Linked DNA regions of Homo sapiens: region 1 is linked to region 2. The links are contacts of gene promoters, found by promoter capture Hi-C in blood cells and fetal thymus (Javierre and others, 2016). All regions are on one chromosome and are shown on one strand. The core of a region is centred on a gene start or on the middle of the fragment in contact, and the rest is flanking DNA. Distances in the headings are between cores, read along the strand shown. Region 1 overlaps GET3 (guided entry of tail-anchored proteins factor 3, ATPase). Region 2 holds the start of RNASEH2A (ribonuclease H2 subunit A).

Evidence for each region. Contacts are between HindIII fragments. The CHiCAGO score rates a contact against its expected background, and 5 or more counts as called.
Region 1: a contact is called between a fragment that was not itself captured here and the fragment with the promoter of RNASEH2A in region 2, in 8 of 17 cell types (naive CD4 T cells, total CD8 T cells, monocytes and 5 more). The highest score is 7.3, in naive CD4 T cells.

What each region holds. Positions count from the first base shown.
Region 1 is chr19:12,739,606-12,743,466 of GRCh38, reverse strand. All of the region lies in intron 2 of GET3 (guided entry of tail-anchored proteins factor 3, ATPase), which reads right to left. Among named protein-coding and RNA genes, the nearest start is that of GET3, 4.0 kb to the right of the region's middle. The HindIII fragment of the contact is 4,185 bases long and covers 433-3,861 here.
Region 2 is chr19:12,804,158-12,808,195 of GRCh38, reverse strand. RNASEH2A (ribonuclease H2 subunit A) reads right to left here and starts at 1,612. Exons shown (of 8, transcript NM_006397.3): 1 at 1,396-1,612; 2 at 1,117-1,188; 3 at 867-990; 4 at 690-777. The coding sequence starts at 1,522. THSD8 (thrombospondin type 1 domain containing 8) reads right to left here. Exons shown (of 2, transcript NM_001386800.1): 2 at 3,807-4,038. The coding sequence ends at 3,893. RefSeq lists enhancers at 1,509-1,558, 1,759-1,888 and a cis regulatory region at 1,333-2,365. The HindIII fragment of the contact is 3,433 bases long and covers 826-4,038 here.

The DNA of each region.
Region 1 (3,861 bases), core at 1,276-3,775, 66 kb after region 2:
AGTTTCACTCTTGTTGTCTAGGCTGGACAATGGCGTGATCTTGGCTCACTGCAACCTCCGCCTCCAGGGTTCAAGTGATTCTCCTGCCTCAGCTTCCTGAGTAGCTGGGATTACAGGCATGCGCCACCACCCCAGCTAATTTTGTATTTTTAGTAGAGACGGGGCTTCTCTATGTTGGTCAGGCTGGTTTTCAACTCCCAACCTCAGGTGATCCACCCACCTCAGCCTCCCAAAATGCTGGGATTACAGGTATGAGCCACCATGCCCGGCCAATGCCTCCCTCTTTATCTTCCTCCTCTGTCACCTCTTCTTGGTAACTTCATGGGTCCCATGGGGAAGTACCCAACTCGCTGGCCTTAGGGGTCATTCCCTGTTGGGGAGCTTGCCCACTCATCACTGCACCCTCTTCTTATGCTTCATATATTTTAAGCTTCTTTGGACTACTTCATCCCCTCACCTGGCCCCTGTAAACTGTCAGTGTTCCTCTTGGCTGGCACCCTTATCCAGCCCAGCCTCCACAGGTTCCCTCTGCAAACACTCCCTTTCCCCTTGCTGTTGGCAAAATCCCCCACTCTGGTTACTTCCAGCTTTTTTTTTCTTTCTTTTAGAGATAGCGTCTTGGCCGGGCGCGGTAGCTCACACTTGTAATCCCAGTGTATTAGGAAGCCAAGCCAGGCAGATCATTTGAGGTCAGGAGATTGAAAACAGCCTGGCCAACATGTTGAAACCCCGTCTCTACTAAAAAAAAATACAGGCCAGGCGCGGTGGCTCACGCCTGTAATCCCAGCACTTTGGGAGGCCAAGGCGGGTGGATCACGAGGTCAGGAGATCGAGACCATCCTGGTTAACATGGTGAAACCCCGTCTCTACTAAAAATACTAAAAATTAGCCGGGCATGGTGGCATGCACCTGGAGTCCCAGCTACTCGGGAGGCTGAGGCAGGAGAATCACTTGAAATCGGGAGGAAGAGGTTGCAGTGAACCGAGATTGCGCCACTGCACTCCATCCTGGGCGACAGAATAAGACTCCGTCTCAAAACAAACAAAAAAAACCCCCCCAAAACAAAAATTAGCCGGATGTGGTGGCGGGCGCCTGTAATCACAGCTACTTGGGAGGCTGAGGCAGGAGAATCGCTTAAACTCAGGAGGTAGAGGTTGCAGTGAGCTGAGATCACACCACTGCACTCCAGCCTGGGTGACAGAGTGAAACTCAGTCTCAAAAAAAAAAAAAAAAAAGATACCATCTCATACATAGCTCATTGCAGCCTCAAACTCTTAGGCTCAAATGATCCTCCTGCCTCAACCTACCAACTTACTGGGACTATAGGCACACACCACCATGCCCAGCTAATTTTGTTTGTTTTTTGTAGAGAAAGGGTCTCCCTTTGTTGCCCAGGCTGGTCTTGAACTCCTGACCTCACGTGATCCTCTTGTCTCAGTCTCTGCAAGCACTGAAATGATAGGTATGGCTTTCTAGCTCTTTAGTATCACTGCACTTGAGGGCCGAACACTCCTGAAGAGTATTCCCATCTTGCTCCTCACCCTTTTGGAGACGGAGTCTCGCTCTGTCATCCAGGTTGGAGTACAGTGGCACAATCTCGACTCACTGTGACCTCCGCCTCCCAGGTTCAAGCAATTCTTTGCCTCAGCCTCCCGAGTATCTGGGATTACAGGCGCCCACCACCAGGCCCAACTAATTTTTTTTTTTTGAGATGGAGTGTCGCTCTGTATCCCAGGCTGGAGTGCAGTGGCATGATCTCGGCTCACTGCAACCTCCGTCTCCCAGGTTCAAGCAATTCTCCTGCCTCAGCCTCCCGTGTAACTGGGACTACAGGTGCCGGCCACCACGCAAGGCTAATTTTTGTATTTTTAGTAGAGACGGGGTTTCACCATATTGGTCAGGCTGGTCTCGAACTCCCGACCTCAGGTGATCTGCCCGCCTCAGCCTCCCAAAGTGCTGGGATTACAGGCGTGAGCCACCGTGCCTGGCTTATTTTTGTATTTTTTTTTTTGAGATGGAGTCTTGCTCTGTCACCCACGCTGGAGTGCAGTGGCGCGATCTAGGCTCACTGTAAGCTCCACCTCCCGCGTTCACGCCATTCTCCTGCCTCAGCCTCCCGAATAACTGGGATTAAAGGCACCCGCCATCACGCCCGGCTAACTTTTTGTATTTTTAGTAGAGATGGGGTTTCACCCTGTTAGCCAGGCTGGTCTCAATCTCCTGACTTTGTGATCCGCCCACCTCGGCCTCCCAGAGTGCTGGGATTACAGGCGTGAGCCACCATGCCCAGCTAATTTTTGTATTTTTAGTAGAGATGGAGTTCCACCATCTTGGCTAGGCTGGTCTTTAACTCCTGACCTTCTGATCCACCTGCCTCAGCCTCCCGAAGTGCTGGGATTACAGGCATGAGCCACCACGCCCGCCCTTGCTCCCCTCTTCTGAACACAAATCTCCAATGGGCACTTGATGATCCAGACAATTCTGGTTCCCCCTGCTACCTTAATAAGTGTTTATGTGGTATTTTCTCCCTCCTCAAACTTCTATCCCATTCACTGCTGAGACCCTTGCCTGTTCCTTGGTGAGAAAGAGAAGCCATTGGCTGCCAACACCCTCATCTCTGCCCGGGAAGTGCCCCAATTCCTCCTGTTTCCCTCCCAGTCCCTGACCCTGGCAGCGCCCAAGTTCTGGGTCTGTATGCTGGATGGAGCTCATCCCACCTGAGGACTGTCCTCTGCCAGCATCCTCACTCTGCAGCATCTCTTTATTTTATTTTATTTTTATTTATTATTTTTTGTTGAGTCTCGCTCCGTTGTTCAGGCTGTAAAGCAGTGGCGCGATCTCGGCTCACTGCAAGGTCCACTTCCCGCGTTCACGCCATTCTCCTGCCTCAGCCTCCGGAGTAGCTGGGACTACAGGTGCCCGCCACCATACCTGGCTAATTTTTTTGTATTTTTAGTAGAGATGAGGTTTCACCGTGTTAGCCAAGATGGTCTCAGTCTCTTGACCTTGTGATCTGCCCGCCTCAGCCTCCCAAAGTGCTGAGATTACAGATGTGAGCCACCGTGCCCGGCCTTTATTATTTTTTTGAGACAGAGTGTTGCTCTGTCGCCCAGGCTGGAGTGCAGTGGCGCGATCTCAGCTCACTGCAAGCTCCGCCTCCGGGGTTCACGCCACTCTCCTGCCTCAGCCTCCTGAGCAGCTGGGACTAAAGGCGCCTGCCACCATGCCCAGCTATTTTTTGTATTTTTAGTAGAGATGGGCTTTCACCGTGTTAGCCAGGAGGGTCTTGATCTCCTGACCTTGTGATCCACCCGCCTCGGTCTCCCACAGTGCTGGGATGACAGGAGTGAGCCACTGCGCCCAGCCAATTTTTTTTTTTTTTGAGACGTGAGAAAACCTCGTCTCTACTAAAAATACAAAAATTAGCCGGGCATGGTGGTAGGCACCTGTAATCCCAGCAACTCCGGAGGCTGAGGCAGGAGAATCTCTGCTTCCTGGGTTCTAGCGATTCTCCTACCTTAGCCTTCTGAGTAGCTGGTATTACAGGCACCTGCCACCATGCCCAGCTAATTGGTTTATATTTTTAGTAGTGATGGGGTTTCACCATGTTGGCCAGGCTGGTCTCAAACTCTTGACCTCAAGTGATCCGCCCACCTTGGCTTCTCAAAGTGCTAGGATTACAGGAATGAGCCACCATGCCCAGCCCTCACACAGCTTTAAATGCCACCCTTGAGACAGTGACTTCCAAATCAATGCCAACCTCCTCTGGGCTCCAGACTCACATAAACAAGCTACTGTCATGATGTTTACACTTGGATTTCCAGTGGGCAACTCAGATTCACTGTGGACAAAATGAAATTC
Region 2 (4,038 bases), core at 363-2,862:
ACTGCAACCTCCGCCTCCCGGGTTCGAGCAATTCTTCTGCCTCGGCCTCACCAATAGGTGGGATTACAGGCACCCGCCACCATGCTGGGCTAATTTTTTGTATTTTCAGTAGAGATGAGGTTTCACCATGTTGGCCAGGATGGTCTTCAACTCCTGACCTCAGGTGATCTGCCTGCCTCAGCCTCCTGAAACGCTGGGATTACAGCCGTGAGCCACTGCGCCTGGTCTCCCATTTTTAGTTTATTTTTTATTTTTTATTTTTTTGAGACAGGGTCTTGCTCTGTTGCCCGGGTTGGAGTGCAATGGCACAATCTTGGCTCACTGCAACTTCTGCCTCCTGGGTTCAAGCGATTCTCCTGTCTCAGCCTCCTGAGTAGCTAGGATTACAGGCGCCTGCCACCACGTCCAGCTAATTTTTGTATTTTTAGTAGAGACGGGGTTTCACCATGTTGGTCAGGCTGGTCTCGAACTCTTGACCTCCGGTGATCTACCCGCCGCGGCTTCCCAAAGTGCTGCGATTATAGGCGTGAGCCACTGCGCCCTGCCTCCATTTTTGAGTTGGGGGGCTTCCTTTGTCACCCAGGATGGAGTGCTGTGGCATGATCATGGCTCACTGCAGTCTCGAACTCCTGTTTTGTCCCCATTTTATCCTGAGATGACCAAATGGGGACAACTTACAGTTAACTCACCTGGGTGACGTTCACGCCCTGGTCCAATGCATACTGTATAAGCCCAGTGGCTGTATCATGTGACAGGGAGTTCAGGTTGTATTTGACCCTGTGGTGGGGAACAGAGCCCAGTTAATCTCATTCTAGGAACAAAGCTTGGTCAGCCCATGCTGGCTGCCCCTCCCGGGGACCCCTCACCGCCCAAGCATGCTGGTAGAGATGAGGTTTGGAGACAGCACATCCAGCGCCCAGCCGACAAAGTCCGTGTCCTCCATTTTCGCAAACAGCCTTTCCCGCTCGCTCTCCAATAGGGTCTTTGAGTCTGGGAGGAGGTTTGGAAGAGAAGGGGAACAGCTGGTTCTCCCAGTTCCTGCCCTCCCCTTTCAGTTCTCACCTGCCCCTGCACATACCCAGGAATCCCTTCCCCAGACGCACACCTCGGGCTCACCTGCCACTTTCAGCGCCTCCAGATCTGCCAGGCGAGGCAGGGGACAATAACAGATGGCGTAGACCATGGGGCCTGGGGAGAAGGGGTGTCAGTTTTCTGGCAGCCGGGGTCCAATCACTGAGCCCGTGAAAGTTGCCATTCATCCCTGTTCTATCATCACTGCTTCTTTAGGTGCCATCACCACGACCACATCCCCTCCCTTGGTGCAGTGCAATCCCGACTCCCGTTTCCCGCATCCTCCGTACCACGCCCCTCCCCTCCCTGGCCCTAGGGGCGCACCCAGCACGGGGCCCCTGCCCGCCTCATCGACGCCCAGGACGCAAGGCTCCTTGCGGCACACCGCGGGCACAGGCGAACTCAGGCGACAGCGGCCTGTATTGTCTCTCTCCAGCTCGCTGAGATCCATGCCGCCTCAGCCGCCACCACCAGCTGCAAGAACTAATACTGCAGGAGCGGGTCTCGGCGCGCGTTTTCCGCGGGCCTCGAAGCGGCGCCTGCTTCCGGCCAATCCGCGGGCAGAACACGCCCCTGGCGCTCCCGCCGCCGTGGACGCTTACGCAGCCGACGCCGACGTCGCTGCCGTGCGCCCTCCTGGGAATTGTAGTCCCGAAGGGCTATGGCCGAACACTCAGCTTGGGGAATTCGGTGGACGGGGTCACTTTGCAAGCTCTGCTTCACGGTCTCTGGGGCCCCGCCTGCGTGGCCCGGTGGGAAGAGGGGGAAATAAGAGGGAAACTGAGACGTAGCTTCGAAGACCCAGCCTAACGGGGAACTAGAGAGTCAAATATCACCCCACTCCCAGGACACGGGTCACCGCATCACTGGGTCCCCAACTGCCACTTGGATTCAGGCCCTGTACTTGCGGTCCCTGCTTCTGTACACATTCTAAGTCCCCTGGACCAGGTAGCCCCGCTTCCACTAAACCCAGGCTTTTGGATTTGGAGTCCCCAAACTCCCTCTCTTGGTTGCTCCCTTCGGCCCACCTCCACTCCGTGCAAGATCTGTGCTTCCTAACCTCTGTCTCATTCAGGCCAAGCCTTCCCCACCCCCGTTGGAGATCACAGACCTCGGTGGACTCCTGCTCAGGGTCTCTGCTCCCTATAGAAGCTCATTCCTCCCAACTTAGAATGAATGTCCCCACCCCCACCCCTCGACCCACTTTTTTTTTTTCTTTTTTTTTTTTTTGAGACAGAGTCTCGCTCTTGTCGCCCAGGCTGGAGTGCAATGGCGCCATCTCCGCTCACTGCAAGCTCCGCGTCCCGGGTTCACGCCATTCTCCTGCCTCAGTCTCCCGAATAGCTGGGACTACAGGCGCCCGCCACCACACCCGGCTAATTTTTTGTACTTTTTAGTAGAGATGGGGTTTCACCGTGTTAGCCAGGTTGGTCTCGATTTCCTGACCTTGTGATCCGCCCGCCTCGGCCTCCCAAAGTGTTGGGATTGCAGGCGTGAGCCACCGCACCCGGCCTTCTTTTTTTTTTAGACAGGGTCTCTCTCTGTTGTCCAGGCTGGAGTGCAGTGGCGCGATCTTGGCTCACTGCAACCTCCACCTCCTGGGCTGACGCGATCCTCCCACCTCAGTCTCCCAAGCAGCTGGACTACAGGTGCACACCACACCACCATGCCCGACTATTTTTGGTATTTTTTGTAGAGACGGGGTCTCATTATGTTGCCCAGGCTGGCTTCAAACTCCTGGGCTCAAGCGATCCGGTCGCCTCAGCCTCCCAAAGTGTTGGGATTACAAGCCTGAGCCAGCCACAGTGCCTGGCATCCACCACTTCTATTCCCTGGGCTCACTGGGGCTCATGTCCTCTGCCTGTGGGTTCCCGCCCCTTACCAGGCTCATGCCCCTTCCTCAGGGTCCTAGTTCATTGTCTCTTTATCTCCTTTTACTCCTCTTCGCCTCCCCCTCCACTTTTTTTTTTTTTTTTTTTTTTTTTTTTTTTTTGAGACAGGATGTTACTCTGTTGCCCAGGCTGGATAGCAGTGTAGCGATCTCGGCTTATTGTAACCTTTGCCTCCCAGGCTCAAGCGATCCTTCCTCCCCATCGTACCGAGTAGCTGGGACCACAGGCATGTGCCGCCACGCTCATCTAACTTAAATGTTTTTGTTTGTTTGTTTGTTTGGTTGGTTTTTTTTGAGACAGAGTCTCGCTCTGTCGCCCAGGCTGGAGTGCAGTGGCGCGATCTCGGCTCACTGCAGGCTCCGCCTCCCGGGTTCATGCCATTCTCCTGCCTCAGCCTCCCGAGTAGCTGGGACTACAGGCGCCCGCCACCGCGCCCAGCTAATTTTTTATATTTTTAGTAGAGACGGGGTTTCACCGTTTTAGCCAGGATGGTCTCGATCTCCTGACCTTGTGATCCGCCTGCCTTGGCCTCCCAAAGTGCTGGGATTGCGGGCGTGAGCCACCGCGCCCGGCCTAATTTTAAAAATTTTTATGGAGAGGTGATCTCAACGATATTGCCCAGACTAATCTTGAACTCCAGGACTCAAGAGATCCGCCTGCCTCGGCCTCCCAAAATGCTGGAATTACAGGCGTGAGCCCCGGCGCCCGGCGCCCCCTCCACTTTTCTCCTTTTCTCCCTAGATATCAGCGGGGCTCACGGCTCCTGACTCAGCTTCCCCCTAACCAAATCAGCCTCAAGTCACTCAAGACTTGGAGCCCCAGTTCTCCCTTCCTCAAACTCGCTTCATACCCGCCCCGCACCGCACATCCTCCCTCCGCGCCCACCCTGGGCCCCGCAACTTGCCCCGGCCCTGCTCTCTCACCCGGGCTCAGAGCCTCCAGTCGCAGTCGAAGGGCTTGCAGGATGGACAATCCCGTTGCCGGCAGGGCCGTAACTGGATCAGCTTCTCCGGGTCCATGAAAACCGGGCCCGGCGCTGTGCCCACTACCTCGCGGCTGCGCTCCTGCTTGCCCA